Regions from separate parts of the Homo sapiens genome. Here region 1 is linked to region 2. Evidence: promoter capture Hi-C in human tissues and cell types (Jung and others, 2019). All regions are on one chromosome and are shown on one strand. The core of a region is centred on a gene start or on the middle of the fragment in contact, and the rest is flanking DNA. Distances in the headings are between cores, read along the strand shown. Region 1 overlaps DYNC2H1 (dynein cytoplasmic 2 heavy chain 1). Region 2 holds the start of DYNC2H1 (dynein cytoplasmic 2 heavy chain 1).

The links. Contacts are between HindIII fragments. The study calls those that stand out against the background at their distance.
Region 1: a contact is called between a fragment that was not itself captured here and the fragment with the promoter of DYNC2H1 in region 2, in 1 of the 25 tissues and cell types used here (H1 embryonic stem cells).

What each region holds. Positions count from the first base shown.
Region 1 is chr11:103,157,118-103,163,372 of GRCh38, forward strand. DYNC2H1 (dynein cytoplasmic 2 heavy chain 1) reads left to right here. Exons shown (of 89, transcript NM_001377.3): 27 at 1,560-1,692; 28 at 1,793-1,910; 29 at 3,815-3,927; 30 at 5,911-6,030. Among named protein-coding and RNA genes, the nearest start is that of DYNC2H1, 51 kb to the left of the region's middle. The HindIII fragment of the contact is 3,379 bases long and covers 607-3,985 here.
Region 2 is chr11:103,105,449-103,112,393 of GRCh38, forward strand. DYNC2H1 (dynein cytoplasmic 2 heavy chain 1) reads left to right here and starts at 3,978. Exons shown (of 89, transcript NM_001377.3): 1 at 3,978-4,321. The coding sequence starts at 4,127. RefSeq lists enhancers at 3,571-3,690, 3,761-3,810. The HindIII fragment of the contact is 3,230 bases long and covers 2,676-5,905 here.

The DNA of each region.
Region 1 (6,255 bases), core at 1,046-3,545, 50 kb after region 2:
TCTTCCATTGGCTTCTGTGATTTCGTCCTCTCTTGGTTTTCTGACTGTCTCTCTAGTTCAACACATAGTTCCTAGTCCTTAGCTGTCTCCAAATCTTTAGATGTAGTCATTCTCCAGGCCTCAGCCTTCGATTTTTTTCTCACTGTATTCTCAGGTAATCTTAACCACTGCCAGCATCAGTTCTCTTTTATATGCTGAGGTCTCCTCAACTTACATGTACAGCCCATATTTCTCTTCTGAGCTCCAAATCTACCAAACATGCTCAAATAGTAGGCTAAAACTGAATCCATGAGCTTAATTTACCAGTTCCTTTCCAACAAATCTTTCTTCTTTCTGATTCCTATTTCAATAAATGGCCCAACCTAATTGCTGAAAGCAGAGACATGATGGATAACTTTGATATCTCCCTCTTCCTCCACTTTTACATACATTAAGTTGCCAAATTTTGTTGATTCTAACCTGCTTAGTATATCTTGAGCCAAATACCTGTACAGAAGTATATCTGTACTTCTATTCTAATGTTCTGTATCTCTTACTTGGACTACGCACATTAACCTTCTGACTTGCTCTTGTATAATATAAGTTTTTCACACAACAGCCAGAGTAATTGTTTAAAAATGCAGGTTCAGCACTTTCTTTTACTCCTGTAAATAAAACTTTAAAATAGTTTCCCATTGTGCTAGGGATAAAGCATGATCTGCTCCTTGTTCATTTCTCTATCCTTTTCTTGTGCTGCTCTCCATTTTGCTTTAGTGACTCTAGCTTTTAGTTTCTCGGTCATACCTATCTTCTTCCCAGAATCTTTGCCAGAAACGTCTTCTACTCACTCACTTTTTCATTTTATTCTTCATCTGCATATCAATTTAAATTACTTCCTTAAAGAAGTCCTAGGTTATGGGTTGCCCTGTTAGCCATTTTAACAATACTTTACTTTTCCTTTTTAACATTTATCACAATTTTATTTAAATATTTCTAGAAATTATTTGATGTCTTTTGCTGTCACTGGACCATTAGCTCTATGAGGTAGGGCTTAAAATTAGCTTAGCAAGGCTGGGCATGGTGGCTCACGCCTGTAATCCCAGCACTTTGGGAGGCCGAGGCGGGCGGATCACGAGGTCAGGAGATCGAGACCATCGTGGCTAACACGGTGAAACCCCGTCTCTACTAAAATATACAAAAAAATTAGCTAGGCGCGGTGGCGGGTGCCTGTATTCCCAGCTACTTGGGAGGCTGAGGCAGGTGAATGTCAGGAACCCAGGAGGCGGAGTTTGCAGTGAGCAGAGATTGCGCCACTGCACTCCAGCCTGGGAGACAGAGCGAGACTCCATCTCAAAAAATAAAAAAATTAGCTTAGCAAATGAAATATATAAGATAATTTAAAATATAAGAAGTTAAAAATGATAGTGTGATATTAATATTTAACATTCCTAGAGGTGTAATACTGTTATAATAGTGTTACCTTTAGTTCATTTTAAGCAGGTAAAAAAAGTCTTAATCTGTTTTTCTTACCCCCCCAAATTGTTAAAGTAGATGTGAAGATACTTTTTTTTCTTTTGTAGATCAATAATGACTGATATCAAGAAAGACAATAGAGTCACAACATTAACTACTCATGCTGGAATAAGAAATTCTCTACTAACAATACTTGATCAGCTTCAAAGATGTCAGAAATCATTAAATGAATTTTTGGAGGCATGTTTTTTAAGAAAAAAATATATAATAAATTGTAAAGTACTTGATATCTTAATTATCTGAAAAAAAGAAAGCTATTTTTTGTTTCTATTTTTATTAGGAAAAACGCTCAGCATTCCCAAGATTTTATTTTATTGGTGATGATGACTTATTAGAAATATTGGGCCAGTCTACCAACCCATCAGTGATTCAGTCTCACCTGAAGAAGCTTTTTGCTGGTAGGATTCAACATTTATTTAACAGATATTTATTGAGTTTCAACTGTCTGCCAGGCCTAATATTATGCTCTTAGGTAGACTACTGAATACAGCAGTCAGTTCATATACCCAAATACAGTTCCTGTACCCAAAGAATGTACAGTTTAATGGGAGAGACAAGGTTGTAAGTTGACAAATATAATACAGTGTGACAATTCTGGTGATTGACATAAGTATGTGGTGCTATAGGTCCATCTGTGAGGGCATTTAGCTCAGTTTTAGGGCATCATGAAGTAAGTGACATCTAGGGCGATATCTGAAGAATGTATAGGCCTTAGTTAGAAAAAGGCAGGCAGGCAGTGGGTATAGGCTGTGCAAAGGCCTGTAGTGAAGGAGAATATGCCTCTTCCTTATAGAGTTTAAGGTGTCCTGAATGACATACAGGTGGAGATACTCCATAGGCAGTTATTGTCAGTGAAGAGACCTAGGTGAGAATGTAGGAGTCATCCATATAGAAATAATAGTAAGCTATGGGAACAGGTGAGATTACTTGGGGGAAAACTGTAATGTCAAATGCTTTGATGTTGTAGAGTCACTTTAATGGGATACTTATTAGTGGCAAATGGAATAGGTTTATTACCAAAATAATGACTATTATTTTCTTAAAATACTTAATTTACTTGGAAAGCGCAAGCAAATGACTTCTTCTATAGAGCAAACAGCTCTATAGAAAAGAGCTGTATTTTTCAAATTAAATTTATGAAGTAAAATAATTTTCATCATTTTAACTAATAATCAAGGATCAGCAAAATATAACCCATGGGCCAAAATCTGGCTCACTACTTGTTGTTTTTAAGTAAAGTTTTGTTGAAACATAATCCTGCACGGTAGTTTATGTATTGTTGTCTATACCTTTCATGCTATGAATGCAGAGTTGAGTAGTTGACACTGACCATATGGTCCATTAGACTTAAAATATTTACTCTCTGGTCCTGTACAGAAATATTCATCAATTCCTGTGTATCTGAAGCTTTAGGATGCTTATATTTGTAACTATGATTTGGGCAATGGGAAGTAGTAGAAAACAAACTCTTGCAATCAGAACCCTTTTATTCAACCAATTTCTCTATTGTTTATTAATTGGTTATCAAGTTACCTCTCTGAAATTTAGTTTTTTCTTTATATTGCAAATAATAATATAGTTTTTTTGTGAAGATCAAAATGACATAATATATTCAAGTTTTTTATATACTATAAAGTAATATGCAAATTTGGGGGAAAGGGAAGTCTTATTTGCCTTCAACACATTTACCTGTTCATGGGCATTTGGGTTATTTCCAGTTTTTGGCTATTACGAATAAAGCTGTTGTAAACAATCATACAAGTCTTTTTGTAGACATACATTTTTATTTGTATTGGATAAACACCTAGTTTTGGAATTGCTAAGTCATATAGTAAATATATGTTTAACTTTTTTAGAAACTGCCAAATCATTTTCCAAAGAGGTTATAACATTTTTCACTCCCCCAAGAATGTGAGTTAGGACAATTCTTACTGATTGGTACGTAGTAGTTGATTAGGTTGCCTAAATTTTTTATTCTGGAAAATGGTAGGAATGAATAAACAAACATATATAGAAATATCTAAATAAACATTCACAAATTTCACCAGTGAATCCTGTCACATATAGATAGATATTGATAAGAAATATTTCAGATGAGTGATAAGAATATTGATTCAGAAAGTGATTTTTTTCCCTCAATAGGACATTTAAACACTAGGAGCACTATATATTATGTGGTATACATTATAATTTGATTATTATATATGTTTTAGGGTATATATTAACACTATGTGACACATATTGTATCTAATAATTATGTCTTTAATCCTTTTGCAATTCAATCATTGCTTTTATATTTCAGGTATTAACAGTGTTTGCTTTGATGAGAAATCAAAACATATAACTGCAATGAAATCTTTAGAGGGAGAAGTTGTACCTTTTAAAAATAAAGTTCCTCTATCAAATAATGTAGAGGTAAGCAATTCTTTTTCAAATATGAAAACAAAAAGAATTAACTATATATGAACTTTGTGTCTAAAATAATTTAGTCAATTTAGAGGGTAAAGTTGGTTAATTTAGGTATTTTAGGAAACTCAGCTCATATCTTAAAAATGATTTGTTTTGTTAGTTTCGGAGTATTTTGATATTAAAAAGAATATGGATTTGTAGTCTTTGGAAGGCAGCCTGTAATTATGAAAAGAACCTTGGCCTTGGAGTAAAAAATCTTAGATATTAATCTTAGCTCCACAACTTAATAGCTATGTGACTTACAGTGTTGTTTTTCTAATCAGTAAAATGGTAATCTCAGTACAGGTGGAGTATGTCTTATCCAAAGTATTTGGGACCAGAAGTGTTTCAGATTTCAGATTTTGTTAGATTTTGGACTATTTGCATTATGTCAGTTCAGCATCCCTAATGTGAAAATCCAAAATGCTCCAATAAGTGTTTCCTTTGAGCATCATGTCAACCTCAAAAAGTTTTAGATTTTGGAGGATTTTGGATTTTGGATTTTCGGATTAGGGATGTTCAACCTGTAACTGTTGCAAAGACTTTCAATTAAAAATTAAATGAGATAATTGGCTTTAAGTACACTATTTAGTGCTTGGAACATGGTACTCAATACATTTTAGTTGTCTTTACTCTTTAAAATATGAATTTGTATAAGATGATTTGGGTGAACAAGTAAGCGAACAACTATTGATTAACTGGTTCTGCAGGACTGGAAGTAAACTGATCAAAGGCCTATTATAGGCATATAGCTAAAACTAACTAGCAATAGATTGCATCACATGGAATTGTAACTTTTCAATTTCAAATTATCTTCCACCTGGAAGCCAGGGCCCATGCCTTACCATGTGCATGTCCATACAGCCTAGCAAAATGTTTATTCCTGGTTAGGTTGCAACATTTTATTGGATATTGAGTACATAAATCAGTTGATTGAAAACCTGGGAGATTTGCTAATCATATTTGGTTAAGAGTTTTGTTTTTTTTCCTCTCTTGTAGTTTTGTTGGATATACACAGAGGGACAGAGCTTAAATTTTAGCAACTGGGCTAGAGCAGGTATACCAGCAAAGGAAAAGTTGAAACTCTGGAAGCTTTATGATTGTTAGCAGAGTAGATGTGTCTGTTGCCATGCACTGAGAGGCAGATTCTCACTCTAGCTTCAGTGAATTTTGATGCTATTTTCAATACTGGAGAATGCTCTACAGATTGAAAAAAAAAGCTGGAACACAGAGTTATTTAAGTACGCAATGATGAGAGGCTAAGATTGCAGCTTTTGCCTTTTTATTACAAATGATATATTTTTAAGGTTAAGAAGTGATTCATAAATATTCATTGTTTATCAATCATTGTTATTTTAACTTTTTATTATTTTATATATAATCAAGTGAGTGGAAAAATACATTTTTTTTCACTTTGAAACAAAATTAGTTTTGTTGGATGAAGCAATCTAAGCCCCCAAATAATACATTTCATCCTGATGAAGCAATCCCTTCCTATGGTTACGACTTTATGAATATAAGATCATCAGGATGGCATGAGCCAGGAACTTAGCCAGCCATTTTGACCCTGATTTATTGGCCAAACTATCTGGTTTGATTCATCATAATGATGAAGTGAATGGGTCGACTTTTAAATGCTCATATTATATTGGCTTGTATAGATATAGTCATGGTAGTGTTAGCCACAAATTTATGTTTTCACACTCATCATTATCCTAAGAGGTGAAAAAATTGTTTTATTCAAATTATTTAAACTGTTTATTAAGAAAATAAAGAATTATATTCCTATAACACATTTTAGGAGTGTAATGATCAATAGGAAAGTATAATACCCCGTCTTGAAATAACAGTATAGAGTTAGTAGATTGTATATTTATTTTATGTCTTATATATATTATTTTCCAGTTTATTTTATGTCTTGTTTATATTATTTTCCAATTTCTTTTTCAGACATGGTTGAATGATTTGGCCTTAGAAATGAAGAAAACTTTGGAACAGTTGTTGAAGGAATGTGTTACTACTGGGCGAAGTTCTCAAGGTGCAGTTGACCCATCTCTGTTCCCTTCACAGGTAAGGGGGCTTACGTGTAGAAGCTACATAGGCATGGAACGTGGAAAGATCCCTGACCTAGAAGCCAGGAGGCTCAGATAAATCGCATCTGTTTTCTCCCTTTATCTAACAGTTAACGGACAAATTGCTTAACTTCTGAGTCTCAGTTCCTTCAGCTGTAAAATGTGGGGGATGAATTGAGATCCAAGCAACCTAGGCCAGTGGTGAGTAGGATGGGGAGGAGGG
Region 2 (6,945 bases), core at 2,728-5,227:
CGTAAAACACTGCTGCATTGAAGTATTAATAATGGCCTGTTTCAAGGAAAATAATTTTGTGATTGTCTGAGTTATGGTCAAAACTAGCTGTTTTTTTTTCATGGAAGACCATTTTTACTTGAAAGAATAACAAAATAATGTTATTCAGACTTTGATATTTGGCAGAAATTTTTCTTAAAAATGAATGAAATGAGCTTATCACTTCCAGGGAAACAATTGACCTTATTTGTGGCCAATGATAAAATTCAAGTGTTCCTGCAAAAATTAGAATCTTGGATAACTTAAATTCTCTACTGTAAGTTTGACAACCTCTCCATACATAAAGACTTTTTCTTGGCCAGGCGAGGTGGCTCATTCCTGTAATCTCAGCACTTTAGGAGGCTGAGGTGGGAGGATCACTTGAGCACAGGAGTTTGAGACTACAGCAAGGTATGATCAAGCCACTGCACTCCAGCTTGGGTGACAGAGAAAGACCCTGTCTCTAAAAAGACTTTTTCTTATAAGATCAGTGGTGTATTAATAAATGTGATTTTAAAAATATTATATAAGCAAATGTATCAATATTTGGAAGATCTTCATAGCTTAGGAACCAATACTTTCTAAATGACCAATGTATGATGTTATGAAATTATGTGCGAGCAAAAGATACATTCAAAGTGCTAGAAAACCAATGGATTTTAATGTAACTGAGTATGAAATATTCATTGATCTGGTTCCAAATTCCAAATTTTAACTATCCTTTAAGAAACTACTACTTGTGGAATGTTAGTTTAGTATAAAAGAATATTCACAAGCATCTATTAAAATCTTCATTTTTTAGCTTCTCAATTTTTAAACTACATATCTGTGTGAGGCTGGATATTCTCTATATACTTCAATCCAAACAACGTATTGCAAGAGATGGAATGCAGAAGAACATAGAGGATCCAGTTGTCTTCTGTTAAGGCAGACAGGAAAGGGACTTAACAAAAATGTAAAAACAATGCCATTCTTCTCATCATTTTTTTTTGCCTTTTAGAAATATAATTATTTTCATAAAAATGTTATTTATTTTACCAAGAATGGTCTTATTATGCTTATTTTAAGATAGATAGATATTTCAAAAATTTCTCAGTTTTAATTTTGATTACAATAAATGTTGATAGAAATAAACTACAGAAACAAAATCCTTTTGAAGTCTTCAGTAATTTTTTTTATTTTATTTTTTTTGAGACAGAGTCTTGCTCTGTTACTCAGGTTGGAGTGCAGTGGCACGATCTTGGCTCACTGCAACCTCTGCCTCCCAGGTTCAAGCTATTCTTCTGCCTCAGACTCCCGAGTAGCTGGAATTACAGGTGTGCGCCACTGTGCCCGGCTAATTTTTGAATTTTTAGTAGAGACGGGGTTTCACCATATTGGCCAGGCTGGTCTCAAACTCCTGACCTCATGATCTGCCCGCCTCAGCCTCCCAAAGTGCTGGGATTACAGGCGAGAGCCACTGTGCCTGGCAGTAATTTTTTAAAGTATAAAAATAATTGTTTAAAGTATAAAGTATAAAAAGGTCACCAAAAAGTTTGGGAAATGGCATATAGGACAAAATTAGGAAACCCTGTCTCAGAAAGTTTTGGGCCTTCCCCTTCAGCTCACGTTACCTGTTTTTATGCCACCTGCCAGACAACTGCTAAGACAATGCTCCACATTAAAAAAAAAAATCATTACTACACTATGGATATCAATTACTCTTTTGGTTAGAGTAGCCTAAATTGCCATAAAAATAGCCCACACAGTTTAATGTACAATGCCTCAAACACAACAAAGCTTATTTCTTGCTTATTTAACAACTGCAGACATTATTCCACTCTGTGATTCAGGATCCTAGGGTCCTACTCTTGGAAAGTTTTGCCATCCCTGTTGCTTTATTGTTATCTGCAACCAGCTGGCAAAAGTTAAGGTATTCTCACTTCTTTAAAACTTTGCCTTGAAGACGCACACATTACTTCTTCTCACATTTTATTGGTGAGAATTAGTCACATGACCACACCTGGATGGTAGCCACTTCTTAGCTATGGAAGGGAAAAATAGATTTTGGTGGATATCTGGCTAACACTGTGATATGGTATATAGAGATTGGCTCAGAATTGGATTTTGGTAGGAATCTTGGTTCTACCACTTACCATCTCTGTGTTTTTGTGTAAGTTATTTAATCTGTGAGGTTCTTTCTTCTTTATTGTATGCTTGATACAATACATAAAGTCCGTATCTGTCTTTTCTTCCCACTCTGTGCCTCATTTTTCGTATATAGTAGTGAAAAGGAAACACAAAACTTCTATTTCATGGGGTTTACATGTCAACGGGAGCTTCCATGTTTGAGATCGGTGTTAAACTTGATTCAAACACAATTTCATAGTTTGTGGAAGCCCTAAGTTTCCTGAAGAGTTCTAAAAATTCTTGGGAGGATCACATACTCATGATCTCATCTGCTTTCTAGACTCATCTTCCTACATGTGTTGCCTTTTTATTTACCATATTGTTATGGAAGCTCAATTCAGCCATTTCATACATTTCCACCAAAACAACTCACCAAACCGAGCACTTGTGGGTAATGGAGACTTTCCTGAAGACCTTGGTAAGAGTGATAATGCTCATTGCAGAGCAGGAAACTCTGTAACCATAGTGGTCACTTTGGCTTTCAAAATCTTTTTATTAGCTACACAGTCATCTTGGGTTCCTGTTAGGATTTTTTCCCTCACCCAGTGGTCAGCATCCCACCTCACTGTTTGGATGTTTTCCCATCCAGTGGCCAGACTCCCATCTCTCACTGTTTGGATATTTCATGAGAATTTACATTCATTTCCTTTTATAATTTAGAGCAGTTCAGCTTTTTTAAGTTCCCACTCCAAAATCTTAAGTTGCTCAGCAAATAAAAGGACTCTCTCCTTCCAATTCTCAAATAGTATAGTTTTAAGGGGAGGTTATGATTATTAAGTGCAAACAAAAAAAATCTGCATATGTTTGTGTACCCTAGGATCTTGGGTCAAACCAGTGCTGAGGTGATGAATGACTACAGCAAAAACTTCCTGAGGGCAGGAACTGTGTCCCCAGGGCCTAGTTCGGTACTTGGCAAATTGTGTTAGATTGGTGCAAAAGTAATTACAGTTCTTGCCAAAAAACCGCAATTACGTTTGCACCAACCTAATAGCATGTAGTAAATATTTTTAGAAGAGAATTACTGAATTGAGAAAGTGTTTGACGAATGTTCGGATGAATGACCAGCAATTTAGTAGTTTATAGTAATGCCATGAAGTAGAAAATGACAAAGACCGTTTTCATATCTGTATTTTCACAGAATTTGGTTGCGGTTGTTATAAAATAAACTAAAAAGTATCATTTTACATTTTAGCTATTTTACAAATATGGTTGTGCTCGGGTAATGATTGCAATAAAAAATTGCTGGTTAAATTATTCTAAAATTAATAATAGAAAAAACGATGTTGGGAAATGCAGCAGCACAGAAAGGAGCAGAGGGCGACTGAGAAAGTAAATTAACATTGTATTGAATTCCTAGTCTTTATAAGCTTCTCTAAAAAGCGATTTTTAAATAGTAATCTTTTACAATCCGCACTACACCCCTGGTTGTGAGATAGTATTTCCCCTTCTTAACAGATGTGTACCTTGACGCTGACAGACTGGTTTGCTACCAGGTGCACGTGGAGAGCGAGCACTGGAACCCAGCTCTCCTAAATCTAGATCACGCTGCTGTACTTGAAGGCTAGATGTCTCTCTTCTGATTATGCGTGATAAGAAATCAGTAAGAAGAATAAAAGACATGTTTGAGAGCCAACATAAACTTGTCCGAACCCCTTACAATCGATGACCGCAGGGAGCCGCTGAAGAGCTCCGAGGCGGTCGATAGCCTCCGCGAGCTTTGCGTGCGCGTGCCCCGAGAGGGCAACGCCCACCGCGCGCCGCCAGCGACGCCGCCGTAGTGCTCCGTCGCCATAGCGACTACCCCTGGCAACCGCGAAGCTCTGCGGTCCCGCGGTCGGGCTACGGGTTTGAGCAAAGCTCCTCTCTTCCCTTCACTTCCCTCCGGACTGGTTTCTTCTTCCTTCCCCCTTCCCCCAACTTCCCTCCACCCCTTCCAATCATGGCGAACGGGACTGCGGACGTTCGGAAGCTCTTCATCTTCACTACTACCCAGAATTACTTCGGGTTGATGTCTGAACTCTGGGATCAGCCACTGTTGTGCAACTGTCTTGAAATCAACAACTTCTTGGATGACGGCAACCAGATGCTCCTCAGGGTGCAGCGATCCGACGCAGGAATCTCCTTTTCCAACACGGTACGGTTCCTTGCACTCCTGCCTGACCCCTGACCACTCTTCAAGTCCCCAGGCCCAGCCAGAGGGACGTCGGGTCACACTCTTTAGCTTTACCAACCAGATCCTTTTCAGGAACCCAAGGCTGTCTCCACTTCTCCTGCATTATTGGCTTAGATGCGTTGGCCTCGTGCTTAAGCAGGTAGTTTCCAAGCTTTGCATCCTACCTGACCGAAGCATGTTTCCCTTCCATACATCTGAATAGAAGCAATTAGATTGTGTTTTATTTTAAATTTTTATACGGAGTTTCGTTCTGTCGCTTAGGCTGGATGGAGTGTAGTGGCGCGATCTCTGCTCACTGCGTCCTCCACCTCCTGAGTTCAAGCGATTCTCGTGCCTCAGCCTCCCGAGTAGCAGGCGCGCGCCGCCACGCCTGGCTAATTTTTGTATTTTCAGTAGAGACGGGGGTTTCACCACGTTGGCCATGTGGGTCTCCATCTCCTGACCTCAAGTGATCCGGCCTCCCAAAGTGCTGGGATTGCAAGCATGAGCCACCGCGCCCGGCCTATATTCTACTTTTTAAGAAAGACTGCAGATACGTTATAACTAAAAAGAAAACATTTACTTAGTTATTTTTATTTTTTTCTCTCCCCTTTTTGAGTTTTTTTTTTGGGGGGAAGGCAAATTCTAGTCTATCTTTTTTGGATCAGGCTCTGATTTTAACATTGCCCAAGGGAAAGATTAGTTAGGAATTTAAATTTTTGTGAAATGATATATTTCAAAATAAAGTTTGAATTCTTTTTTGGTGTACATCATGTGATATACTGATTTATTAATTGCACTGCTCCCTCCACTGGCAGGATTGCTTAAAAAATGGGTTGCATTTGCAATCAGGGCTTATATATATAAGCCTAAAAGAAAAACACAGAAGAAAATTGCCTGACACATTAAAGGGGACTCAGTAAATAGATTTAAGTTAATAAAACAAAGACATATTTTAAACCTCTTCCTTTGGTGTTCACCCTTATCCCTAGGTCTAGCAGAGTTTTTGACACTCAGCAAAAACATTCAGTGCCTTTTTTTTTTTTTTTAGACGCAGTTCGCAGTTTCGCTCGTATTACCCAGGCTGGAGTGCAATGGCACAATCTTGGCTCACTGCAACCTCTGCCTCCCGGGTTCAAGCGATTCTCCTGCCACAGCCTCCCAAGTAGCTGGGATTACAGGGCATGTGCCACCACACCCAGCTAATTTTTTGCAATTAGTAGAAATGGGGTTTCACCATGTTGGTCAGGCTGGTCTCGAACTCCTGACCTCAGGTGATCCACCCGCCTTGGCCTCCCAAAGTGCTGGGATTACAGGTGTGTGCCACCGTGCCTGGCTTCAGTGCATTTTTATAGGATGATTGAATCATTCACCCTATTCACTATCTTTATTCTTAGGTTTAATTCGATTGTATTTAATAAACATTTACTTTGAACTCAGTACATGCAAGGCACTTTGCCAGGCATGATGGGTTTACAAAGATATAAAAAGGATGGATAATCATAGCTAACATTTATTTTCACTTTAGACTCTGTCAAGCACTGTTCTAAGTACTTTATATGTATTCGTTCATTTAATAGCCATAACGACATTGTAAGATAGGAACTATTCTTTTTCTTATTTTATGGCTGAGGAAAGTAAGGGACAAAATTTACAACCTAAATGTTAACTTTTCTTTTTCTCCAATAGGTAGCGTAGTTCAGGATAGAGCCCCCTGCTTTCTGCCTTTCCTAGACTCACTCCAGTGGCTTAGGATGACATATACTCAGCAAATGATAAAATCAGGACACACTGTTGTAAATGCCACTGAAAGTTCGGATAGAATGCAGTAGGAAAGATGGAAAGGGGTTTGGATTCGTGAAAGTGTATCTTGGCTTGGGTATTTGAAAGTTGAAGGTAGAACTTTTTTTTTTTAAGTTAAAGCTATTACTAGTAAAGCCCAACGATGTATCTGTTATTTTTAGTTGTACACTTCGCTACAGGTTTTTAGTCATATTTGAAAATATTTTGTTATGTCTTCAGTTGTACTTTAGTTGCCTGATAGTTAGCGTGATTCAATAAGTTAATAAGTCAGCAAATATTTATTGCCTACCTACTAGTACTGGGGACAAAGCCATGAACACAGAGTCCGTATCTTAAAGGAGTAACATTGGAATGGACAAAGGTAGGCTAAACGCATGCTACAGATATATGTAACATAATTTTGGGTATTGATAAGTGCCGTTAAGATAAAAATAATGTTATAGTAGTGATGGGGCAGCGTGGGGAACTAAAGATATATAGGGTGGGAGATAATCCCTCTCTGGATTAGTTATCTTTGAAGCGAGATTTGAATGATGAGTTGCAGGCAGGCATAACCTGGGGGAAGAGTGTTCTAAGCAAAAGAAACTGTAAGTACCAAGGCCCTGAGCTGGGTTTTAACTTAGTTTCCAGGGGCAAGAAAAAAAATCCAGAGTGATTGCTGGAGTTTATGGTATGAAGGAACATTGTGGTAGATGAGAAAGGAGAATAAGGCACAGGCTGATCATTTAGGACACTGTATACCATTTAAATTGAAATAGGAAGTTATTGGTAATCTTAAGCAAGAGAGAGCTGTGATCTGGTTT